2 separate regions of the Homo sapiens genome follow, and region 1 is linked to region 2. Evidence: promoter capture Hi-C in human tissues and cell types (Jung and others, 2019). All regions are on one chromosome and are shown on one strand. The core of a region is centred on a gene start or on the middle of the fragment in contact, and the rest is flanking DNA. Distances in the headings are between cores, read along the strand shown.

What was found. Contacts are between HindIII fragments. The study calls those that stand out against the background at their distance.
Region 1: a contact is called between a fragment that was not itself captured here and the fragment with the promoter of OR1K1 in region 2, in 1 of the 25 tissues and cell types used here (hippocampus).

What each region holds. Positions count from the first base shown.
Region 1 is chr9:121,724,588-121,727,537 of GRCh38, reverse strand. All of the region lies in intron 3 of DAB2IP (DAB2 interacting protein), which reads right to left. Among named protein-coding and RNA genes, the nearest start is that of DAB2IP, 74 kb to the right of the region's middle. The HindIII fragment of the contact is 4,977 bases long and covers 1-2,950 here.
Region 2 is chr9:122,798,778-122,801,774 of GRCh38, reverse strand. It overlaps OR1K1 (olfactory receptor family 1 subfamily K member 1), which reads right to left and starts at 1,652. Exons shown (of 1, transcript NM_080859.1): 1 at 702-1,652. The coding sequence starts at 1,652. The coding sequence ends at 702. The HindIII fragment of the contact is 19,122 bases long and covers 1-2,997 here.

The DNA of each region.
Region 1 (2,950 bases), core at 422-2,921, 1.1 Mb after region 2:
CTGATCCCTGGCTTTTTGAATCCTAAGGGAGCCTTGGCAATTATGGTGAAGACAGTTGCCCTCACCCTTGCCACACCCCCACTGCCATGCTAAGGCACGCTGGCGCCTCTATGTGTAGGCACTCTGCTAAGCCTCCCTCTTAAAACATATGTTAATCCTCACAAGTATCTTAGGAAATGGTTACACTTTTTGTCCCCATTTGACAGAGAGGGAAACTAAAACTCACTACAGAGCAAGTCACCTGCTAGAGGCCACAACGCTGGGAAGCAGCTTCACCGCGGGCAGTGCAGCTCAGGAGCCTGAACTGTTACATCAGTGTCTCTGCTTCAAGGTGGGGCTTGAGGGATCTCCAGATGGGGAATGGAGGTGAGGGGGTAACGAGTGTCCAGGCCAAGAGCAGGACACAAGGTATCACCCCTCAGAGTGCTTTATCCTGCTGGCACTCATTCAACTGTCCCCCTGCCTCCAGGCAAAGCTATACATAAGCCTGCAGTAAGTCCAGCACAATATTTTTGAGAGACCACCCCACATCCCTACTCCTCTCCACCTCCCATCCCCAGCCCACCAGCATTCCAGGGTGGGGAACTGAGCTCCTGGCAGTTGGCTGAGCTCAGCTGGCCTTGGCACCAGTTCCTGAAGTACAGTATGAGGGAGTAGGGTGGGGAAAGAGACCCTTCCCCTTGAAGATAAAGGGGAATACAGGGCTGAGCCCTCAGTCGCCAGCTTCTTCCTCCCTGTCCCAGACACCTTCTGTAGAAAAAACCCAACTCAGTTTCTCCCCTTTCCTTTTATACTCTCACAAAGCAGAATACTTCCAACACCAGATGTGGTGGGGGCGGGAGGGGTTGTCCCCACACACCAAGCAGGCGATTAGTTGGGCAGCAGACACCAGCCCAGATGTCTTCTAATTTTGTTCCATTTTGACATTATCTACCTGGAGATAGCATCAGATCCACAGGTTGAGGGCTCAGTCCCCAAGACTATCCCCCCATCCTTCAGATGCCAATTGCAAGCCCCGTGTTGGTTTACCAGTGCTTCCCACCGACTGGCTATCAACTGGGTTTCCCATAAACCCCTCTTTGGGTTTGATTAATTTGCTGCAACAGCTCACAGAACTCAGGGAAATATTTACTTCTGTTTGCCAGTTTATTATAAAGGGATACCAATGAAAAGATGCATAGGGAGAGGTATGTGGGCAGGGGCGTGGAGCTTCCATGCCCTCCCTAGGAACCCTCCAGGAACCTCCAAGCATTCAGCTATCTGAAAGCTCCCCAAGCTTTGTCCTTTTGGGTTTTTATAAAAGCTTCATTTCATAGGCATGATTGATTAAAGCACTAGCCATTGGCGACTAACTTAACCTTCAGCCTCTCTCCCTGCCCCAGGGGCTGTGGGGTGGGCTGAAAGTTCTAACCCTCTAATCCTGCCTTGGTCTTTTCTGTGACCCCTTTCTGAAGCCACCTAGGGGCTGCCAGCCATCAGTCAACTCATTAGCAAATAAGTAGACATCACTTTAAAGAATCTAAGGATTTCAGGAGTCGTGTGCCAAGAAACCAAATACTGTATATATTTCCCAGTGTCACACCTTTCCACACCTACCCTTACACACAGCCAAGGACTTGCTTCTAAAATCGCTGATCTATCTAGGTCCCATCTCTTCTTAAAATCCTTCCCAGCTACTTTCAGGATCAAGTCCATACCCTGCTGCCTTCCTGCTACCTTCCCCTCTATTCCTTGCACTCTCCAGGCCCAACACATAGCCGCCCCGTGCCCAGTGATACCCAACTACCTGGCATGCCCAAAAGCCCTTTCCCTCCCTCAAGGGAACCTTCACCTTCACCCTGTGGCCCAACCACCAACTCAGTGGAGCCTTCCTTGAGCGCTGGTAGAGTCCTCACTCCCTTCTCTGTTCACGCACAGACCCTCTAAGGTGAGGTCTGTTGACTCATCTGCATTGTCAGACAGCAGGAGCCCTTGAGGGCAGAGATTGGCGTGACTGTCCCCTACCCCCTGCCCACAGCAGAGCGTACACAGAGGAAGCACACAGGAAACAATGGCTGGAATTTGCTGCACTGGGTACCCCAGGGTCAAAGAGGCCAAATCTAAGGGTGACCCTGGGCAGTGGAGTCTCTTGGAGATAGACCTGACCATAAGCCCCCGAGCCAGGTCAGACCAGGGCCCGCCAATTGGCTCTCCCAACCTGGCTCGTTAGGGGAATATGGACACTGCCAGGCCCAATCTTTCCATGGACGCCTGACAATGGCTGTGTCGAGAATCACAGGAGATGAAGTCATCGCTCCCAGAAATAGGCTGATTAAGAAGACGTGACGACAACGCAAACAGCAAGGCTGGACACACACACACATACACACGCGCGCACACACACTCACTCACCATGTGTTTCTCCACCCTGGGAAGCCGGGCCAGGCCTGAGCTCCTCTGGGAAACAGAAATCGTGCCAGGAACCAAAGCCAGCACAAGAAGCCTGGAGGCGGCTGGTCTTTGGGAGTGGCTGGTGCCGGGGGTGCTCTCCTCAGAGACTGTCTTGCAAGGGTTCCCTGTCCTGACCCTCACTGAAGTCCCCGACCTGCCCCTGGCCCTCTCAGACCCTCATGGTTCACCCCCTCCTTGGCCTCACCCCTCAATCCCCAGGGTAAAATCCTACCCACCTTTTTGGGCCCCCTCCCATTCCTGTCCATCCTAGATTCTGGGGAGGTGGGAGTGTCTACTGGCTGAGACAGGGCTCAGAGGCCACAGACACTGGGCTAAAATCCTGGTTCTGTCCCGCTGCAGCTGTATGACATTGGGCTAGTCAATCCACCTCTTCTTTGAGTCTAGTTTCCCCATCTGTAAAATGTAGACAGCAATGTGTCCACATTATGGGGTACAATTAAATGTTTGTTTGTTCATTCACCAACTTTCTGTCAGGCCCGATTCTAGGTGCCAGAGACAC
Region 2 (2,997 bases), core at 403-2,902:
CACACAAGGCATGTTCTGCGGATGTCACACCCTCCTGGATTGCCCTCGGTCTGTAGGAAATGGTGGAATGCATTCTAAATGCCTAAGAGTGATCATCAGAAGAGCATGATGTGGCAGAAGGGGTGCAGGTTTTGCTTTCTAAGAACTGTGTGAATTTGAGAAAGTCACTTCTTTTTTTTTTGAGATGGAGTCTTGCTCTGTTGCCCAGGCTGGAGCTCAGTGGCACAATCTTAGCTCACTTCAATCTTCATCTTTTGGGTTCAAGTGATTCTCTTGCCTCAGTCTCCCGAGTAGATGGGATTACAGTTGTGCGCCGCCATGCTTGGCTAATTTTGGTATTTGTAATAGAGACAGGGTTTCGCCATGTTGGCCAGGCTGATCTTGAACTCTCGACCTCAGGTGATCCACCACCTCGGCTTCTCAAAGTGCTGGGATTACAGGCGTGAGCCGCTGTGCCTGGCTGGAAAGTCACTTCTTATCTTTGAGCCTAAAGACAAATTTTCTTGTGTGTAAAACCGGATCATAATATCTGCATCCTGGGTGGCTGTGGGAATAAAATGAGATCAGGCAAGGATCTGCTTCCGGGCAGGTGCTCAGGAAATGACAGCTGTTATGATTTTTGAGCATAGCAGAGGACAGAGGGTCACGTTCAACAGTTGCCAGTGTGGGTGATGCAGTCTGTCCTCAGTGGGGTCCTGCCCTCAGGAGTCACTAGCTGAGATCCTTCGCCCAATGAGAAGGGCTCGGAGTGCCCCCTGTACATCGCGATTCCAGAGGCTGTAGATGATGGGGTTCAGCATGGGGGTGACTACAGTGTACATGACAGTGGCCACACGGCCCCACTCTGCCTCGCGTCGGGATGTGGCCTGGAAGTAGACTGCAATGACTGTCCCATAGAAGAGGCTCACCACAGCCAGGTGGGAGCCACAGGTGGACACAGCCCGGAGCCTCCCAGAGGCTGAGGGCAGCTGGAGCACGGCAGCTGCGATGGCCCCATAGGAGGCGAGGATGAGCAGGAAGGGAGTGACCACCACTGCGGCGCCCTCGGTGAAGATGAGCAGCTGGATGTGGTGGGTGTCAGAGCACGAGAGCCTTAAGAGAGGCTGGTGGTCACAGAAGAAGTGGGGCACTTGGTGGGAAGCACAGAAGGACAAGCGAGCCATGAGCAGGATATACAGGAGGGAGTGGACGTGGGACACCAGCCATGCCATTCCCACCAGGGCTGCGCACATGGCCCGGGACATCCTCGTGGCATAGGGGAGGGGGTGCCGGATGGCCACGTAGCAGTCATAGGCCATGGCCGCCAGAAGACAGCTATCAGTTACCCCCAGGGCAAAGAAGAAGTACATTTGGGTCAGGCAGCCAGCCAGCGAGATGGAGTGGTCATGGGCCAACAAGTTGGCCAACATCTTGGGCACAGTGACGGAGGCGAAGCAGAGGTCAGCAAAGGACAGGTGGGCCAGCAGGAAGTACATGGGTGCATGAAGGGCTGGACTGGCCTGGATGGCAGCCACAATGAGTCCATTACCCAGGAGGCTGGCCACATACAAGAGCAAGAACAGCACAAAGAGAGGCCGCTGCTGTCCAGGACTTGTTGTCAGTCCCAATAAAACGAATGAGATTCCCTCTGAAGACTCATTGGCAGCCTCCATGGCAGGCTGGTTATTCGCCTGGAACCTGAAGGGCTCCTTTCTATTGATGGGTCACCTCCCCGATGTCTAACGGAAAAGGTGAGGGGATAAATTGTTCAAGGCTTCCTGGCCATGGGAAAATATCAAGAGTTTAGAGTCAGGTAGCCCTGGCCCTAGGCACAGGTATGACTATGGGCAAGTCATTTCACCTCCCTGAACCTTCTTCCTTTCTGGGCCTTAGATTTTCTTTTCTTTTTTTTTTTTTTTTTTTGAGATGGAGTCTTGCTCTGTCGCCCAGGCTGGAGTGCAGTGGCACGATCTCAGCTCACTGCAAGCTCCACCTCCTGGGTTCACGCCATTCTCCTGCCTCAGCCTCCCGAGTAGCTGGGACTACAGGCGCCCGCCATCACGCCCGGCTAATTTTTTTTGTATTTTTTAGTAGAGACGGGGTTTCACCGTGTTAGCCAGGATGTTCTCGATCTCCTGACCTTGTGGGGCCTTAGACTTTCAACCTGCGAAATAAGAGAATTGAAGTAACTCATCTGCAAGGTCACGTCCAACTTTGATAGTTTGTGATTTAAGCAAAAATAGAACAAAAGATATTGCACAAGATGTAGATCAGGGAAGGAGGAAAATATGAAAGAAAAGATGAAACAGAGTGAGGTTCGACACAGAAAGATCTGGCCAATGGACATTTATTTTGGAAAAGAAAAAATGAAACCAAACCAAGATGGAGGAGAGAAACATAAGAAAGAAACTCTAGAAAAAAAATCTGAAGAGCACATATGTTTACATTGAAATGAATATGAACTCACAACACCTAGACACAAATAGTGGAATTTTAGAACACTGGAAATGAAGAGGAGACTCCAGTACTTCCTAAGGGCATGGGGTGCAATGAACTGATGATATCCATGTAATTAGATTGCCATCAAATGTTTCAATTCAACAGTAGATTATAGAACAGTTTAACAATATTCAAATTCTGAAAAAAAGCATTTCGAACTTGGAATTCTTCACTCAGCAAAAATACTACTCAAGTGTGAGTAAAGAATACAGATATTTTCAGACTTAAAACACAAAACAAGGCCGGGTGCAGTGGCTCGTGCCTGTAATCCCAGCACTTTGGGAGGCCAAGGTAGGAGGATCACCTGAGGTCAGGAGTTTGAGACCAGCCTGGCCAATGTGGTGAAACCCCATCTCTACTAAAAAAAAAAATACAAAAATTAGCCAGGTGTGGTGTCACGTGCCTGTAATCCCAGCTACTTGGGAGGCTGGGGCAGGAGAATATCTTGAACCCAGGAGGCAGAGGTTGCAGTGAGCCAAGATCGTGCCACTGCACTCCAGCCTGGGTGGCACAGTGAGA